Linked DNA regions of Homo sapiens: region 2 is linked to region 1. Evidence: promoter capture Hi-C in human tissues and cell types (Jung and others, 2019). All regions are on one chromosome and are shown on one strand. Each heading gives the region's core, a stretch centred on a gene start or on the middle of the fragment in contact. The rest is flanking DNA. Distances are from core to core; before and after follow the strand shown. Region 1 holds the start of GSTM5 (glutathione S-transferase mu 5). Region 2 overlaps GNAI3 (G protein subunit alpha i3).

Region 1 (4,511 bases), core at 135-2,634:
TCTCAGCATCACAGCCCAGCCAAGGAGGAGGTCACCTTCCCCCCGCACATTGCAGCCACCCACACTCACACAGGTTGTGCTTGCGGGCAATGTAGCGCAGGATGGCATTGCTCTGGGTGATCTTGTGAGCCCCATCAATCAAGTAGGGCAGCTGGATAGATGGGAAACCGGGGAAGCTCAGTTGGGCCACCAGGCTCCCCAGCATCCCCTTCCCATATGCAAGGGCAGAGAGGAGACCAGGGCCTGCTCATGGCAGGCCTGAGATAGAAATACTGTCACACTAATAAATGAGCTGGGACACAGAACATCATGCAAGGGCTGTGTAGACAGCCAAGAGTGAGAGGAATTGGGCAGAAGACTCCTGATCTTAACACCTCTAAGGTGGGGAGAGGAGATGCAGTCAGAGACACGTCGCACTTTCCCCCAAAACCGCCCCTTCCCCTGCACCTACATTGGGAAAGTCCAGGCCCAGCTTGAATTTTTCATTCAGCCACTGGCTTCTGTCATAGTCAGGAGCTGTGGTGGGGAAGAAGTGAAAACAAACCTCCCCAGAGCCCAGCCCTCCTTCCCGGGGACCCTCCCAAGGAGCCAGTGGCAAGATCCCTGAGACAGGTGGATCTAGAATCTGACCACTCAGTCCCACATCCCAGGGTTCAGGGAGAAAGAATCCCACTGAGGGCTCTGGACCCCACAACGGCTAAGGCTTCCAGGGTTTAGGGAAGCTCTGAGGGACACCCAACCCAATTAGACAGGGTGTCCAGCATCCCGCCCCAGCATTCTGCCTTGCAAGGCCAGAGGGCTCACTCACGGGAGCTCAGGGAAGGGACAGCCTGCAGCTCCAGCAGGGGAGGCCTGCAGAGGCAGCCACAGGTGGCCACCATGGGTTGCTTGGTGCCAACTCAGCGTGAGTGGGCAGGGCCCGGACACGAGGGTGCCATTACCGTCCCCCAGCGTGTACTTCTTTTCCACATAGCTTGAGTCTGTGTATTCCAGGAGCAAGCGGATGGCGTGGGCCAGCTGGGAGAGATGGCCCGCGGCTCGGGTCAGAGATGGAGGGTCCCTGACTTGGTGACTTTCTCTGCACCAGGCCAGCCCCTAGTCTATACTGCACGTACCCGTCGCCTCCTCTACCCGCCCCCACCCCCAAACACACACACAGCGTCATGCACAGGCCCTTCTGAGGCGGGCAGCCCTGAAGAGGAACGGTCCCTAGAGCCAGTCCTGCAGCTACTCCACACATCCCCGCCTCCGCCCCCTGTCCCACCCACCAGAGGACCCTCGCTTACCCCACGGATGTCCCAGTACCCCAGAGTCATGGGCATGGTGCTGGTTGGTGCGGATTCTGCAGACAGGCATCAGCGGAGCGGGGCTCAGACTTTGAGAGGCCCAGGAGGGGACAGGCGGGGCCTTGCTGCGACCCCGCCCCTCGGCCCGCCACAACCCCGAAACACGCCATTCTGTAGGCCCCCGAGCGAGCGCCCGGGGCTGGAATCAATAAGCCCCCTCCCGCCTCCCAGTCCCCAGGGTTCCGGGAGCGAGGTCAGGGCGCCCAGAAGCCCAAAGCGGGGCTCGGCCTCGCCAGCTTCCCCAACCCGCCCTGAGGCTCCATGAGTCCATCCAGCCCTTGCTAGGTCCACAGCGACTTGGCTGTGCGCTTGAGACACCAGCCAGATCCTAACGGAGCAAAGCTCTTCTCCCTTCTCCTCCCTGCCCGCAGAATCCCTCAGCCTTCTCTCCGCTGCCGAGTTCCCAAGGGCTCTGGGAGACTCCGGCTGCAGGGGTCAGACTAAAAAGTGGTGGTCCCAACCTGGGAATTTAATTCAGCCCCTGTCACTGTAAGAGCAGGACTTCCTCTGATCCGAAAGCTACTCCGAGGGCTTAGTCTCCCCTCTAGCCCCGCCTACACAGGAACAGTGTCAGTGGTATAGGAAGGACCCCCAGGAAAAGGGCCAGAGTAAAGGAAATGTGGTCTGTGTTTTCTGTTAGGGGCCTTTGGATACTGAGTCCTTCGGTCATCTGGCTAAGTACTATGTAAATTAGCCACTTCGTATTTTGGCACAATTTATGAATCGAAATCCAAGGATCAGATCCAGCAAGTTGGTGAGGTATCTGAGGTGCCCCCTAGAAATGTCCAGCCAGTCCACTAGGTGAACCTCACAGAGACCGGAACAGCAACAGCAACAGTGAGTGCAGTGGCCACAGAGAGCAGGCGAGGGAGGATGGAAGAACTTCCCGGACCAAACTGAGGGTCCGGCTGCTATTTCTCTAGGCCCAATAACGAGATGCAGATCAAATGGGGAGGAAGAGAGGTTTTATTTCTGCAACCAGTTACAGGGAGAAGGCCTGGAAATTACTACCAGACCAACTCAAAATTAAAGTTTTCCAGAGCATATATACCTTCTAAGGTATATGTCTACAAGTAAGTGTGCATTCATCTAAAGACATAAGTGATTAACTTCTTTAATCTGTAACTGAGGTCTGGGTCCTGAGGACCTTACTCTGGAGCCTCAGTCTATTTACTTAATCTAAATGGGTCCAGGTGCGGGGGATGATTGCCCTTATCTTGTCTCCTGCTAAATCATGGAGGTTTGGGGAGTTCCTTCAGATGCCCAGTAAACTTGTTTGTGGAGGCCTGGGGAGTTTCTTCAGACTCACAATAAAACTTGTTTAATTCTAAATAGGTCCTGTTAAGAATTCCTTCGTTGTTTTGTCATGCTTTAAGGCCCAGGAAAGGCCTAAGCAAAACTCTTGGTGGGCTTTTGTTACATCCAGCCTCTGTATAAAGGTACTGGCTTTTTTCAGCTTTTAATATTTAATTTCATCACTCAGTCAGTACTGAAACAGTTGTTATGGAGGCCTGTGTTAGTGACACCTGGTCTGCCACAGAACCTGTCCCTCAGAGAAGCCAGAACCCTGTCCTGCTGAGGAGGGAGGTCAGAGGATGGTGGCCAGAGAGGAGCCTGAGGGCTCCCCACAGGATCACAGGCAGGGACTCTCCCCTCTCCAGATCCACCATGCCGGACCTGGACCTGGCTCCTGACCCATGTGTGTTCTTCAGTATGAGACGGTGGCTCCAGTGGCCTTTGAAGTCACACCGTGATATGTGACCCATGGTACAACCTCCGCAAGAACAATGTCCAACCTGCCAACTTTCTTCTTTCAAGGTAGAAGGAAGACTTTCAAAAGAGTTGTGCAATGGATTAGCCTGGGGTTGACTGCTTTTTTTAAAGGATATTACAAATAATAATGGATATATGGAAATAGATGATAGACCTTTAATGAGAAATCATTTTGCAATGTAAACCAGGCTGTTGTGCTGCAAAAAAAGTAGTTTTTTGTTTTTTGTTTTTGTTTTTGTTTTTTTGTAAATTAGCTAAAACATTGTTAGGACTCCAGAGGATGAACCCAGTATATCAAAAAAGTTTCAAACCACCTGGATAATGTGTGGTTTGGGGTTGAGTAAACAGGTAGACTTCATCACATCCCTATTAGGCCACAGAAATCAGGTGGTCAGCAGGTGGCTGCTAAGTTGGGGCACTTGGACACTGTGTCACTGAGGCTGGCAAGGCACAGTCCTTGTTGCAAACACTCCCCACCCATCCAGACCTGGGCAGTACTCCCAGCTCAGATACCTGGCAGGTATCCATGTTTAGGAAGCAGTTTTGGCCTCACAGTGAATTCTCACATAGATTTTCCTGCATTGAGGCAATAGCACCAGCACAGACACAAGTGCCTGGCCCTAGGAATCATTATATTTCTCATTATGCATTAAGAGTTTATGATTTTGAGTTAATGGGTCTTGAGCTGTGAAAGATAAGATGTCTAGATCCAATTGATAAAAACGATTTTTTAAGAAAGCTAACACTCATGAGAATAATAATTTTGAAACACATAGAACCAGTACTGTTACATTAGTATTGTTTGAAATACTTGTTCCTTGGTTCCATAAAGAAATAGCACTTGAACATAAATTTAATTTCCTCAGCAAGGCTATCGGGGAAACTGCCCCCAGTATTTCAACATAGGTTCTATTTTCCATAAGTGTCAGCTGGCTGAGAAATAAAGAGAAAGAGTACAAAGAGAGGAATTTTACAGCTGGGCCGCCAGGGGTGACATCACATATCAGTAGGACCGTGATGCCGGCCCGAGCCTCAAAACCAGCAAGCTTTTATTAAGGATTGCAAAAGGGGAGGGGGTGTACGAACGGGGGGTAGGTACAAAGATCACATGCTTTAAGGGGCAAAAAACAGAACAGAGATCACATGCTTCTGAGGAAACAGGACAAGGGCAAAAGTAGAACTCCTGATAAGGGTCTATGTTCAGCAGTGCACGTATTGTCTTGATAAACATCTTAAACAACAGAACACAGGGTTCAAGAGCAGAGAACCAGTCTGACCACAGATTTGCCAGGGCCAGGTTTTTCCCCACCCTAGTAAGCCTGAGGGTACTGCAGGAGACCAGGGTGTACTTCAGTCCTTGTCTCAACTGCATAGGACAGACATTCCCAGAGC
Region 2 (4,511 bases), core at 1,108-3,607, 140 kb after region 1:
TAGCCGTCCCATGGCTCTTATGATTGCAATGATGGACTGTATAGTATTGCTGTAGACAACTACTTTATATTGTTTACATTCATCCTCTGAATAGCCATCCTCATGAATGATTCTTTAAAACAAAGAAAACCACAAGTCAATACCATGGACCTAAAATGAAAAGATACTATGGACTTTATATGCATTAGGAGAAATCCTAGTCTAACAAAACGCTACATTCCAACTTACTTCATCTGTTTCACAATGGTGCTTTTACCAGATTCTCCAGCACCTGTAAGAAAAGAAAACCAGACTTTGAATTTCTCGGTAATCAACATAAAAGTATAATATCAACATGAATGATAACTCTAGATTGATGAAAACCACGGGTCCTAGGGAAAATTTTGGTGAGGCTTTCATGTCTATCAAGAAAATGTATGGAGCTTCTCCACTACAGCATTTTGCTTTCTTTACATAACTCAGCAACCAAGTATAATTTATTGAAAGTGTCCTAGGGCTTGCTTGGTATCATTTGTGTAAAATAGGCATATCCAAGGACAGATGGCAACATAAACTTTTGGAGGAACTCATTCACTACATAAAACATGATATAAACACTGAACATGGGCAAAAATGAAATCATTATTTTTTGGTCTATTCATTTTTATTAATTCCTCTGTTGCTGCCTGCCTATACCACAGAAATGTTCTGAGAGCAATACTACCAGTCACAGGACTAAAGATGTTTCAAATAGAAGCAGAAAAGGCATTGTTCCTATCAATTTCTCACCATATGTCATCTCAAGACCACCCTGCCCTCCTTAGCCAGCTGGAATCACTTTAAACAAATGACCACAAATGTCAAGCTAGCCTTCTGACCTCCTTGACAAATCCACCTGCTAGATCTTCCCTAGTCAACTCATTTTCCTATCTTCCAAGATGCCTATATCACACCACCTCCTCTCTCTCAAATTTTATAAACCCCCTCCCAATTCTGACTCTCAACTGATGATCCTACCCTACTTTTCCATAAAAATTAAAGCAATCAGAAAAAACTACATTTTCCCACAACGACATCTACCAGTCTATCTGTACCTCCATTAATATTCTCTACCTTCATCAATGGATGAAAAGTCTCTGCCAATGTTTTAAAATCAACTTCTCCCCTTATGCACCTTCATTTTACCTACTCAAGGTCATGGCTGCTGCAATTTCCCATGATATTTTCCACATCTCAAATATGATCAGTTTTTTCTTTCCACTGGGTCATTCTCATCAGCATGCAAACTTACTATACTATTTTCCATCTTTAAATCAACACACATACACACCCCTAACTTTCCTTGACCCCACACATTTTCTTCTAGCTACCACACCATTTTCTCTATCCCTCTTTGCAGCAAAACTCCTCTAATGTGCCATCTATACTCAGTGCCTCCAATTTCGTACATCCAATTCTGTCCTTCAGCTATGCTAATCAGGCTTTCATCCCCACCACTCTAATAAAACTACTTCTCAAGGTCTCCAAAAACTTCCATCTTGACAAACCCAGTTGGTCAATTCTTGGTGCTCATCTTAGCCTCTCAAGCAGAATTTGTCTAAGTTGAAATATTTTCTTCACTAGGCAGGCTTCTAGCCAACATACCCTTCAGGTTTGATTCCTACTTCACTCCTCAATCTCCTCTCTCCAGTTTCTGAATTATTATTATTATTATTATTTGAGATGGAGTCCCGCTCTGTAGCCCAGGCTGGAGTGCAATGGTACAATCTCGGCTCACCGCAACCTCCGCCTCCCAGGTTCAAGCAATTCTCCTGCCTCAGCCTCCTGAGTAGCTGAGATTACAGGCGCCTGCCACAACACCCAGCTGATTTTTGTATTTTTAGTAGAGACAGGGTTTTTCACCATATTAGCCAGGCTGGTCACAAACTCCTGACCTCAGGTGATCTGCCCGCCTCAGCCTCCTAAAGTGCTAGTATTACAGGCGAAAGCCACCGCACCCAACCCAGTTTCTGAATTCTAAAGGTTATATTGCTTCAGGGGTCCCTCCTTGGCCCTTTTCCCTATCTAAACTCATTCTCTAAGTTATCTAATCTCATGGTCTTTATTTTTTGGAGACAGACTCTTGCTCTGTCACCCAGGCTGGAGTGCAGTGGCGCAATCTTGGCTCACTGCAACATCTGCCTCCCAGGTTCAAGTGATTCTCCTGCCTCAGCCTCCTGAGTAGCTGGGACTACAGGCACACGCCACCACACCTGGCTAATTTTTGTATTTTTAGTAGAGACGGGGTTTCACCATGTTTGCCAGGCTGCTCTCGAACTCCTGGGCTCAAGCGATCCACCTGCCTCGGCCTCCCAAAATGCTGGGATTACAGAAGTGAGCAATCGCACCCGGCCCTAATCTCATGGCTTAAACACTATTCAAAAACTGATCCTAACAGTTAACATCTAGTGAGTACCCTCGGCCACACTGTTCTAATCACTTTGTTTGTAATAACTAATTTAATCCTCACAATAACCCTATGAGGTAGACATTATTACCCCCATTTTACAGATGAGATAAATGATGCAGACAGATGTCAAGTAACTTGCCTATAATTACACAGTTAGTAAGTGGCAGAACTGAAATTTGCATTCACAGTTTGGCTCCAAAGCTGGTGTATACTGTCTCTATACTAATGATTTCCAAATTTAGATCTCTAATCTTGGCTTCTAACCTTGGCTCCAGATTCATATATCTAAACCATCTACCTGATATTAGATTTCTAGTAGGTATTTAGATTTCACAAACCTAAAATGCTCAAAACTGAGATACTGATTCCCCAACTCACTCTCACCTCAAAACAAACCCTGCTCCTCCCTCAGTCTTCTCATTCCAGTAAATGGCACCAACATTCACCAGTTGCTCAAGCCAAAAATGTTAAATGACATGTGACTAACGTGCAGATAAGACAAGGATGCCAGTGCCAATCTGTATATTAAATATTAGTAAAGCTTAATTTTTTTAAATAAAGCAATATAAATAGTTAATATAATAGTTTTAACAGTTTGTTCCTGAACATTGGAAACCATAGGCCTAGATCACTGCAAAAGCTTCCTAAATAGTTCAGTGCTTCAGACCTTGCCTTTTCTAAAGCCAGTTTGCCAGTCAGTAGGTGGAATAAACTTTGTAAAATGTAAATTAGATCTTGTCACACGATCTTCAATTATACTCAAAATCCATGGGCATTATGGTGCAATATGCTCTGGCCCCTGCCTACCTCTTCACCCTCATCTCTTGTTACTCTCCACTTTGTCCTCACAGCTCTTGTCAGACCAGCATTCTTGCTTTTCCTCCAACATACCAAACCGGTTCTTACTGAGTTAGGTCCTGACTCTGTCTTTCCTGTCTTTGCGTTTACTGTTACCTGAAATAAGTTTTGCAAGATTTTCTTCCTCACAGGAACAGCCTTTTCTGACTAATCTATCTAAATAGCTCCCACCCCGTCACAGTCTCTCCCCTTATTCTGTGTTATATTTTTTCATAGCACTTACCACTTCTTCACATGACAGATTAGCTCATTTCTTATCTTCCCCACTAAAATATAAGCTCCATGAAGGCTTATTCATCCCTGCATTCCCAGGGCCTTAAACTGGTCATGACATAAATTATCTACTCAAATAAATATTACTAAACAATGAATAATATTTAGTAACCATGATTCTTTACTAAATATTTCTCAACTTTACTAACCAAAAGTTAATTAAAATCCAAATATAAAAATTCTAGACAACTACATTCTTACAGAATCAAAAGGTACATTTATATATGATCTTGTCTTATTACATAATCGATAATCAGGGGTAGTACTAAATAGTTAATACTCAAATAGCACATAGTGACTTTCTTAGGATGCTGTTATAAAAAGGTGAATCCTCTCATTCATATCTAAAAAATCCAATGATTCTACTCTGGGAAGAAAATACAAATGCATACCAGTTATATTTTAAATTGCTTAAAAGACAGAATTCCCAGATTATCCATAGTAACAAGAGCTACTAAATTAAGAAAAGTTGAGATTAATGAATTAATGTGTACCATTCTTTTATATATTGAAAACCACATTTCCATCATTCATGTGAGATTATCTTGAATGAAATAATAAATCCATTAATCTCAGAATCAATTTCTACCTATCTCATTAATCCTACCCTATGGATGCGCTGATTAAAAAAAAAAACAAAAAACCCTCTGTTGCCCTACCTCTCTCACATTTTTCCAAGGCTCCCTGAGAAAATGTCAGTTTGCCTTTCCCTTTATTATCACACTAATATCTTCTCCTGAGCTTCCAGTTCCATCTCAGGGGCACTATTTTTAAAACCATCAGTTTATCTAATAATTCTCCAAATTATTGAAACACTTTCTATAACCCTTTCTTATTAGGTCTGGGCTCTTCACTTTTACCTCAACTCTCTGTGCTCCATTGTTCTAGCAGTAAGCTCCCTTTTCATAACATCTCATTGTTGCGTTTTCCCCAAGCTGCTTCCTATGTTCCA

The links. The method cuts DNA at HindIII sites, captures the fragments that hold promoters and counts their contacts. A contact is called where the count stands out against the background at its distance.
Region 2: a contact is called between a fragment that was not itself captured here and the fragment with the promoter of GSTM5 in region 1, in 2 of the 25 tissues and cell types used here (aorta and spleen).

The regions. Positions count from the first base shown.
Region 1 is chr1:109,709,124-109,713,634 of GRCh38, reverse strand. GSTM5 (glutathione S-transferase mu 5) reads right to left here and starts at 1,384. Exons shown (of 8, transcript NM_000851.4): 1 at 1,287-1,384; 2 at 942-1,017; 3 at 452-516; 4 at 70-151. The coding sequence starts at 1,322. The HindIII fragment of the contact is 7,760 bases long and covers 1-4,511 here.
Region 2 is chr1:109,569,497-109,574,007 of GRCh38, reverse strand. GNAI3 (G protein subunit alpha i3) reads right to left here. Exons shown (of 9, transcript NM_006496.4): 2 at 229-271; 3 at 1-112. Among named protein-coding and RNA genes, the nearest start is that of GNAI3, 23 kb to the right of the region's middle. The HindIII fragment of the contact is 7,050 bases long and covers 1-4,511 here.